Linked DNA regions of Homo sapiens: region 1 is linked to region 2. Evidence: promoter capture Hi-C in 16 types of primary human blood cells and fetal thymus (Javierre and others, 2016). All regions are on one chromosome and are shown on one strand. Each heading gives the region's core, a stretch centred on a gene start or on the middle of the fragment in contact. The rest is flanking DNA. Distances are from core to core; before and after follow the strand shown.

Region 1 (4,667 bases), core at 1,858-4,357, 1.0 Mb before region 2:
TAGAAATATATATATGGACATACATACTATGTATAATAATATACACAGTATGTGTATCTATATTCATATATAAGTATATATATAATAGACTATACTTATATAGTCTATATGTATATAGATTTATATATACATCAACCAATTATGTACAGATAGAACATCTTGACTACTAAGATGTCAACTCTCCTTTTTCCTTCCTTTTTTCCTCCTTCCCTTCCACTGTATGAAAAATATTCTTTCATATCAGTAAAGGTAAAGGTATATTATTTCTGATGTCACAGTTGCTTTAGATAATTCTAAACAGCTGATACAGATACCTTCTTTACCATGACATAGAATGACGAATGGGAATTGGTAATTGACAAGATTACAAATACTCTAATTTTTTTAAATAAAAAAATGTAATAGCAATAGCTATTCTGAATTGTAGCAGGTAAGAGATCCTGCTGATTACAATGGAGGGTTAGTGTCACCATTCTGACTTTCTGGAGAGGTCCTGTCTCCTCAGGTACGTCCTGTCTGCCTCAGTCATCATGGGACAGAGAACCTCCTTGGGTTCTAGGGATCCTCCAGATCAAGGACTCTTAATCTGGTACATCAGAAAGACCTTGAACTCCATAAAGTTAATGCAAATATTACAGCTACTTTATTGTGGTAAAATACTTATAACATGACATCTACCCTCTTAACAAAATTTTAACTATAAGCATAATGTCGTACAGCAGATATTTAGAACTTTTTCATCTTGTACAACTGAAACTTTACACCCATTGAACAGCAACTCCCTACTTCCACCTCCCTCCACCTTTTGCAACCATCATTCTACTTTTTGTTTCTGTGAGTCCGACTACTTTAAAAACCTCATATAAATGAAATCATGCAGTCTTGTCCTTCTGTGACTGGCTGATTTCAGGTAGCATGATGTCCACTTTTGTGGAAAACAGTATGGAGGTTCTTCAAAAAATTAAAAAACAGAACTACCATCCAGCATTCCCATTTCTGGGTGTTTATCCAAAAGAACTGAAATCAGGATTTGGAAGAGATATTTGAACTCCCATGTTCATTGCAGCATTACTTGCAACAGTCAAAAGGTGGAAAGCACCTTAATGTCTATTGATTGATGACTGAATAAAGAAAATTTGATACATGCATACAATGGAATATTACTTATCCATACAAAGAAGGAAATCCTGTCACATACTATCACATGAATTATAGCCATGCCTTAAGGGAAAATTCTGTGGGAAACTTAGCTCTCTATCACATTCTGGAAGGAATCTGCCATACAAACAAAGTTAAACATCACTGCATTAAGGCATGCCTAACAATGAACAAATTCAAAGAAGTTAAACTTGACTTACTTTGTCATTTCATGTTTGGGCCTGCTCCAGATAATTAATGTGCTCATGACACTCTCCCTGCCCAACTTTTAAAAGGTCTTTTTCTGTAGGTGATTACTCCAGTCTGGTCTTGCTAGGTAGAGCTCCAGTGGGGACACTAACATCCTATCTCTTTTTTTTTGAGACCAAGTCTCGCTCTGTCACCCAGGTTGGAGTGCAGTGGCACAATCTTGGCTCACTGAAACCTCCGCCTCCTGGGTTCAAGCGATTCTTCTGCCTCAGTCTTCCGAGTAGCTGGGACTACAGGCGCCCGCCACCACGCCCGGATAATTTTTGTATTTTTTTTAGTAGAGACAGGGTTTCACCATATGGGCCATGCTGGTCTTGAACCCCTGACCTCGCGATCTGCCTGCCTTGGCCTCTCAAAGGGCTGGGCTTATAAGCATGAGCCACTGCACCCGGCTACTTGCATCCTATCTTATGGAAACATACTTATTCTATTTTCTCAGCACACTATTCTTTGCTAGGGAAATGCAAATAAACTGAGCTGACATGTCATGGTTTGTCTTTCTCAGATGTGAGTATTTCTTCAGGGAATTTCAATGACCTAAACGGATAAAAGCAGACAGTAGAGATTTGGGGCTCAAGAGCAAGTTAGAGTGGTAGATAAGGCTGTAACAGTGACATTCTTCTCAACTCTTCTAAAGAAGTCATCGAACATGTGCCTTCTCTATATGCAAGACTGATCTACCTACTTAAAAAAGAAGAAAATAATCCATTGGACAATGCCATATAAGATTATTTTTTTGCATCTTTAAGAAAGTCTTCTTAAAATTAATGGTTTTTTTTTGGTAGGAAATGTAGCCATTAAAATAATTGCCTTTCTTAGTACCAAAGTCTCAATAGTTAAAGATTAAGGGTTCTGTTGGTTTTTCTTCTCTGTAAGATCTTGTGGCAGATTTCAGTCACATATGACTGAAGAATAAATAATAAATCTTGGATGAAAGTTTAATTTTTTTCAAAACAGGACACTTCTCATGGTCCTAATTATTTTTGAAGCCATTCTCTATTAACATTATGACAAGGATTTGGTAGTGGGAAAAGAAGTTCCAAACTTGTGTGACACATAGCTCCCATCTGGCTTTTAGTAAGTTTTTTTTTTTTTTTTTAAAGGTGTCTTGGTCCATTGTGCTGCTATAATAGAATACATGAGACTTGACAATTTAAAATGAACAGATATTTATCGGCTCAGAGTTCTGGAGGCTGGGAAGTACAATATCAAGATGCTGGCTGTTTGCGAGGGTCTTCTTGCTACATCATTTCATGGCAGAAGGTGAGAGGATGAGAGAGAGCAAGAGGGGGCTGAACTTGCCCTTTTATAATGGCACCAATTCCACCCATGACGGTGGAACTCTCCTGGCCTAAACACCTTTGAATGGTCCCACATCATTAAAGCTGTTATAATAGCAATTAAATTTCAACATGAGTTTTGGAGGAGCAAACATTGAAACTATAGTGTAAAGGAGACCTTACCCTTTTATATAATCCTTAGTAAAACTTGTGTAATTCATGTGATGGAGACTGCTAATATCTGGTTATATTGGGAAGCTTGGATATTTCCTATACATTTTAAGTATTGGATAAACTTAAGAATATTCTGTATAGGATACTTTCTCCTTGGAATCTAAATCATTTTTCTGATTTAGAAACTAAGGAGAAGCCTGTAGTCATTGGCTTAAAAATTGATTACAAATGAATTTGTAGAAATAGTACTTCCCATCCCAACTTCACTTCTATTTTACATCAGTTTTCTTTTTTTTACATAACAGATGTGACATTTAAATATTTCTCTAATGTTATGGCATAATGAACTTTGTCAAAGAGCCATATGGTTTATGCAAACACAAAGATAATCTTGGAACATTGACATATGTAAGCTTAATTTAAAAAGTCTGTGAAAATAGTGAAAAGCAGATGGAGAGTTGCCATGGAAATTACTAACACTTAGAGGAAGAAAAATATTACTTTAGGGTCATTGTGATTTCTAAAGGAATGGTCAGACTTGCAAAATTGTTTTCCTACCCAATTGTCAGTAATAAAAACAGATATTGGCAGGTAAATATATTTTTTATTTATCTATGATTTTATGATTTCACTGCATTCTGAATATATTACAGGTATGCACATTTTTATTGGTAAAGACTTTTAGTAGTGGAAGAAAATCTAACTATTTACCACTACTTTAAATAAGAAATGTTCTTTTCAATTTTTCTGAATGAAAGTACAAGTTGTGACTTATTAGTTTTTGTTCTCCTTATGTAGGTTTTTATCTTGATATAAGATAAAATTAGTATCAGAATGACATAGTCTTTAAAGGAAGATGACTAAAATTTGCTCTTATAGATTAATTGTACCAATTGTAAAAAATAGAGAGAAGTCTAGATAGCTCAATAAAAGTAATGAAAAAACCTTTTAGGCCAGATTCTTTATTAGAAATTATAATTGGTAGACACTGCTCTTTACCATAGCTTAGTCATAGAGAAAGTTTAAAAATCTCAATAGGAAGTCATTTGCACTGCTCATTTTGTACCAGCAATTATTTATCACCTGATTGGTTTATATATTCATTTCCATGAACTTTCGAAAAGTCAGTAACTAAACTCTAATTCTTTCTCTTTTCTTCTGAGGCAATTTCAGTTGCTGTGGTTCTCATGGAATAGACTAATCAAAAGTGGGAAGGAATTAAAGTTGGGGCCAGGCGGTTTTGGAACATCGACATAACATTTGGTAAAATGTGAAGCTGAATTAACGCTGTTTTTGATGTTGAAAATGAAATATCAAGAATAAAGGGATAAATATCTATGATTCCAACCTGTAGGAAATCATAAAAACTTGTTTCTTTGCAAAACACTAAAATTATACAATAAGATTCAATGGGAATTTAAAATGAGGATGCTGGGATCAACTAATGCAGATGGATTAGCATTTAAGTTGTTTTTTTCTTTGTTCTTTCTTTCCTTTCCTTTTTTTTTTTTTAAAGATTTGGATGGCAAATCGTCTTTCTGCAATTGTTTTATGGCTGCCATTGCAATTAAGAAATGGAAAATAAATTTCTGAAATCCAACAAAGTCTGATCTTATCAGCATCAGAACCATGTATGGAAAAATCCTCATAAGTGGAGCGGTTGAACCTTGGAAATATATCAGCCTTCGAAAATTGCAGCTGGAGACATCTGTCATTTGTGAGAGTGAAGGTTTAGTTGGCTTCATACCTGAGCTAGGGGTTCTTGAGATCCCGCATTTGTTTTAGGCGAAGAGAAATCAGTGTTTC
Region 2 (4,776 bases), core at 880-3,379:
TAAAGTGATTGGGTCATTAAAAAGTATTACGTCTAGCAATGCCTCTATGACTCAGTGAGTTTAGTGGTTATAAATATAAAATAAGCCCTAAGGGCATGTTACTGAGTTGTTCTTCAATCACTTAAAACAGTGCGGATGCAAATACTAAGAAGAAAGAAAGTGGATTTATCTGAGGTGAGCTTTGCCTGGGAAGATCAATAAATTGAAAGAGAAACAGGAGAATTGAGGGTATACAGAAGGAAGTGATTAAAATAATTGCATGAAAAAATTCAAGTAAGGAGGAAAATGAAAATATGAGTGTACTGGCTTGAATTGTGTCTCCCAAAAAGATATGAGGAAGTCCTAACCCCCGGTACCTGTGAATGTCACCTTTCCTGAAAAGAGAGTCTTAGCAGACCTTATCAAGTTAAGATGAGGTCATGAGGGTGGTCCCCAGCCAAAGATGACTAGCGTTTTTTTAAGTACAGAGGACAGAGACATAAAGGGAGAAGATGGCCATGTGGTAACAGAAGCAGCTGTTGGAGTGATACACCTATAAAACAAGGAGTTCAGGCTGTCAGCAAACACCAGGAGGTGGAAGAGGTAAGGAGGATTCTTCCCTACAGGTCTCAGAGGGAGCATGGCTCTGCTGACACCTTGATTTTTGACTTCTGGCCTCCAAAAGTGTGAGACAATAAAGTTCTGTTTTAGGTCACTCAGCTTGTAGTACTTTGTTAGTGCAGTCTTAGGAAATGCATTCATTTATATGTTGTCTGTGGTTAATTTACCACCAGAATGGCAGAGGTGAGTGGTTGTGATAGAGATTGCATGGTCCTACAAAACCTAAAATATTTCTTATTTGTCCCTTTATAGAAGTTTGTTAACTCCCTCATCTAGAGTTTGGAAATGGGAATGAAAGGCTGAAGTAGGCTACAATCCAATGCAAGGTTGCACATAAGAAGCTCTGAATAAGTGTAAACATTATGTGCATTCAAAACAGTAACATTAACTGTGGACTCTGGAAATAAGAAAAGGAATCGTGTTGGAGAGTGAGACTGAGCCAGTTGGGAATAGACAAAATTACATTCTCAAGGGAGAATTTCATTTCTTGGTGAGGAAAATTATGCCCTTTGGGCTGGTAAATACTGTCTCCTCTTGAATAAAACAGTGGTCTGGCCACCTGTTAGACACTGAGAAGTCTAGACTAACACTCAATGTATTCGGATGTTTGCTCACTATTTCCGATGGAAAAGTCTGGTTTGATTGTTAAAGTAAAATATTTGGCCTTTCAGAGTGTGAAAACACCATTGCTTCATTGCAAGGTTTAATATAAACCCATTTTTCTTGCATTTTCTTTTCTTTCTTTTGTAGTAAAATGTGCTTGAATAATATTAACTATTCTGACCATTATGTGAACTAAATATATATATATATAAAATGATGATACCTTCCGCTCATTTGCAATGTGCTTTTGAATACATTATATAATTTAATCCTTAAAACAGCCCTATAAATCTGTTTTTTTTTTTTTTAAACAAAAAAATTCTGCTTTACAAAGGAAGAAGTTGAGACTCAGTAAAATTAAGTGACCATCCCAGAGTCTCAGCCACTTAAGAGTAGGGTGAATCTTGGATAATTCTGGTAGCAAATTTATTTATTGGTAGAAAATAAATGCAAACTACTACTGCTTAAGATCCTCTAAAGTTTTTCTCTTGGAAAAAGAATGTATTAGAATTGTGGACTTTCTCAGTGCAAGGATTTATTTATCCTTGGAATTAGGCAGAATAAACAATTGAATGCCAAAAATTCAACGTGTTTCTTTTCTGTTTTCAAAACTCATAGAAATTGTAAATATGAGCAACTGATCATGTCTCTGAGAATTAACTCTTTTTGTACAGAGCGCTGCAGAGCTTTGATTGTGACCTGATACTTGGTCCTTAAAGATTCTAGAACACCAATGGAAAAGAAAACCATGTAGCAAATTAGCCCAAGAACCGTTAAAGACAAAACAAAACAAACCAAAACCAAAACACACAAACAAAGAAAACACAAGGATCCCAGTGATGTCCCTAAGGAATAGTTGGCTTAAAAACTTTCTGGAAGGAGGAGGGGTCTCTGTTATAAACTTCCGCCCTCCTCTGGCTTCTGTTCCTTACCCTCTGCCCCCTGCGGAGTTGTGTTTTCTGGGAATCAGCAAGTAAGATCACAAGTGGTCTTTTCTTTTATTCACTCTCTCCCATAAAGAAAGCTTTATCACGTGTGGCCTTAAACTTGCAGCAAATTGCAAAGAAATGGCTCAAAAGCTTCAGCTCTTTCTGTGCCCTGGGAGCTGAGATGCACGTCAGTGGCCTTGCCAGCGTGGCCAATTCTCTGCTGACTGCCAGAAAAAAGAGGCCAGGAAGAAAGAGGAAAGAGAAGAGATCGCTCAGGGGTGAGACCATGCCCTTCATCTTTTCTTTTCCCTAATCTCCTCTGCTTGTGTCCACCCACACTCTCCCCACCTGGCAAAATTGTTCAAAATTGCTGTGGAGTTTACCTCAGTTTCCTCTTTCAGTCTGTGGTGTGTGGTCCATCCTCTTGCTGAGCACATTGAAAGGAACTGGCTATCTTTGATCTCTTCCTCCAGGTAAGACTTGGTTCTCTCATTTTATATTTTGTGACTAATACATCAGATTCTTATGGGAGATTAACCCTTAATTTCTGTGCGATTTATGTTTTATCCATAAAAATATCAGTGAAAGGTGATGATCCCCTCATTAGTTTGATGGAAATAAGAGAGAAGATTGGTTAAAGAAATCAGATAAACTCAAATTTGAGTTCAAATTTTGAGTCTCATGCTTATAAATTGTTTAGCTTTTGACAAGTCACTTAATTGCTTTGGGCCATCTAATTTAAAAAATGGAATTCTAATATTACGTTTGTTGGGTTGTTTTAAGGATTAGAAAAAGTACGTACATTACTCAACACAAAAATAGTACTTATTAAATCTGAATCTGACACAGATAATTTGTATTAGGTGAGAAATTAGTTTCTAAACAACACACACTCCTCTGCAGCAAGTGCCGTGAGGCTATTTTTTAGTTTGTCTGAAGGGAGGCATCCTGGTGTCCAGAAGTCAAGCCAGGACAGAGGTTTTCCTCACAGGAGATGGCCAAGAGAAGAGAGGGAGGAGCGTGGTTGCCTTTAGGACTTTCTCTGTGGCAGTCCTTGGGGACTGATTGCTGGACAGAGTCCGAGTCAGTTGCAGAGCAGAGGGGTTGAGTACATCTGCGGGATCTAACTACAACCTTCCTAAGCCACTTGCTCTCTCCATTTAAAATCTGGAGGGCTGATTTTGAAACTAATGAGGACTGATTATTCAATGTTTTTGAACCAAAGGAAGAGAAACTGCTTGGCTTGTTTTTCTTTGGCCTCCAGAATAAGTTATGCTCCAAACCCAGGGTATTGGATGAAAACTGTCGTATGTCTTTTCCTGGAAGAATCTATTCAAGTGGCCAGAGATCAATTAAGGATTTGCCAAATGCAAATAATTCTGAATAACTGTGTACTCTTGCTCTACTTCTGCAGTTGCAAATGAAGAGAGAGAGCCTGCAGGCCCCAAGGATCTTTCCGTTCATGTCATTGAGCTTCCTTCCCTCTCTTTTTACAGGGGATGAACTGTAGCCTCCTTGGAACATACTACACTTGCAATAATTTGCGCATTAACCATCAAGACACTTCAGTAAAGCTATGCAGTGCCAATAGTTTAAGCTGGATCCTATTTTGCCCTAACACAAAGTGAACTGAGATGACTATATTTATATTTCATTATACTTTTGAATTTTAGTTACAGTGATTTTTGTGTCAACACCTCCATATATTAGATAACTTAAAATGTGCTATAGTATCTCAAGTTTTTCAGTAGTGTTTTTAACATAATTATTTTTTCTCTTTGACATTAGCATTCTAGATGTAACACTTTGGATCTTTTAAAGATAAATTTAGGATAAATGATAGCAGATTTTATTATTAAACAATTTATTTGTATTTTCTGGTCACTGACTTTAATATTATGACTGATGAGAAATAATATGATATCTGAATCCCCAAAAACAGAAGGCCAATTTGAATTATATAATTTAATCCTTTGAAGAATATTGCAATTTAAGCCAGAAATTTAATAATTATCCGTTTCTTATTTTAAAACCTTTCTGGTTTGTATATCTCTTGCTTGGCAATATTTTTACTCATAGTTTTGTAGTAAAGATACCTATTTAACATTGTATAACTCTGCATTTCCCAAACCCTGTTTTCCTTGTCCTGGCAAAATACTGTTCTAGAAAAGTAGTCCTAGTGACTCAGTAGATATAGGAAGTTGGCTGTTGGTATCAGATACTGTTAAGGAAGAATCTCTATATTCTTCATTTCTTAAACTTTGTTTTTTAAATCAGTAATAGATGTCGAATTTTATCAACTGATGTTTTTCATGTAATGAAATTCTATTTTTTATTTTGAATTATTCATGTGGTAATTTAGGTGAATAAATTTCCTGTAATTAACCAATTGTTGCATCTTTTAGAATAATTCTAATCATAGAGCAAGAGTTAATTTGGATTTGCTAGCATTTACTTAGAATTTTTATAATCTATGGGCTTGATCTGAAGTTTTCCTTTCTGTGCTATCTTTGTGCTGTTTTGTTACCAAGATAATGTTATTTTTGTCAAACTAATGGAGACAATGATTATCTGTTTCCATTATCGGCTATCTTTCCTCAAAGAATATCCCTTGATAAAGCACTTCTGGTGCATCATCTATCCT

Evidence for each region. The method cuts DNA at HindIII sites, captures the fragments that hold promoters and counts their contacts. A CHiCAGO score of 5 or more calls a contact.
Region 1: a contact is called between a fragment that was not itself captured here and the fragment with the promoter of SLCO1C1 in region 2, in 1 of 17 cell types (M0 macrophages). The highest score is 5.2, in M0 macrophages.

Annotation. Positions count from the first base shown.
Region 1 is chr12:19,668,629-19,673,295 of GRCh38, forward strand. It overlaps LOC101928387 (a long non-coding RNA gene), which reads left to right. Exons shown (of 7, transcript XR_007063236.1): 6 at 2,511-4,124; 7 at 4,378-4,461. Among named protein-coding and RNA genes, the nearest start is that of AEBP2, 230 kb to the left of the region's middle. The HindIII fragment of the contact is 329 bases long and covers 2,944-3,272 here.
Region 2 is chr12:20,693,203-20,697,978 of GRCh38, forward strand. It overlaps SLCO1C1 (solute carrier organic anion transporter family member 1C1), which reads left to right and starts at 2,130. Exons shown (of 15, transcript NM_017435.5): 1 at 2,130-2,605. The HindIII fragment of the contact is 4,383 bases long and covers 1-2,225 here.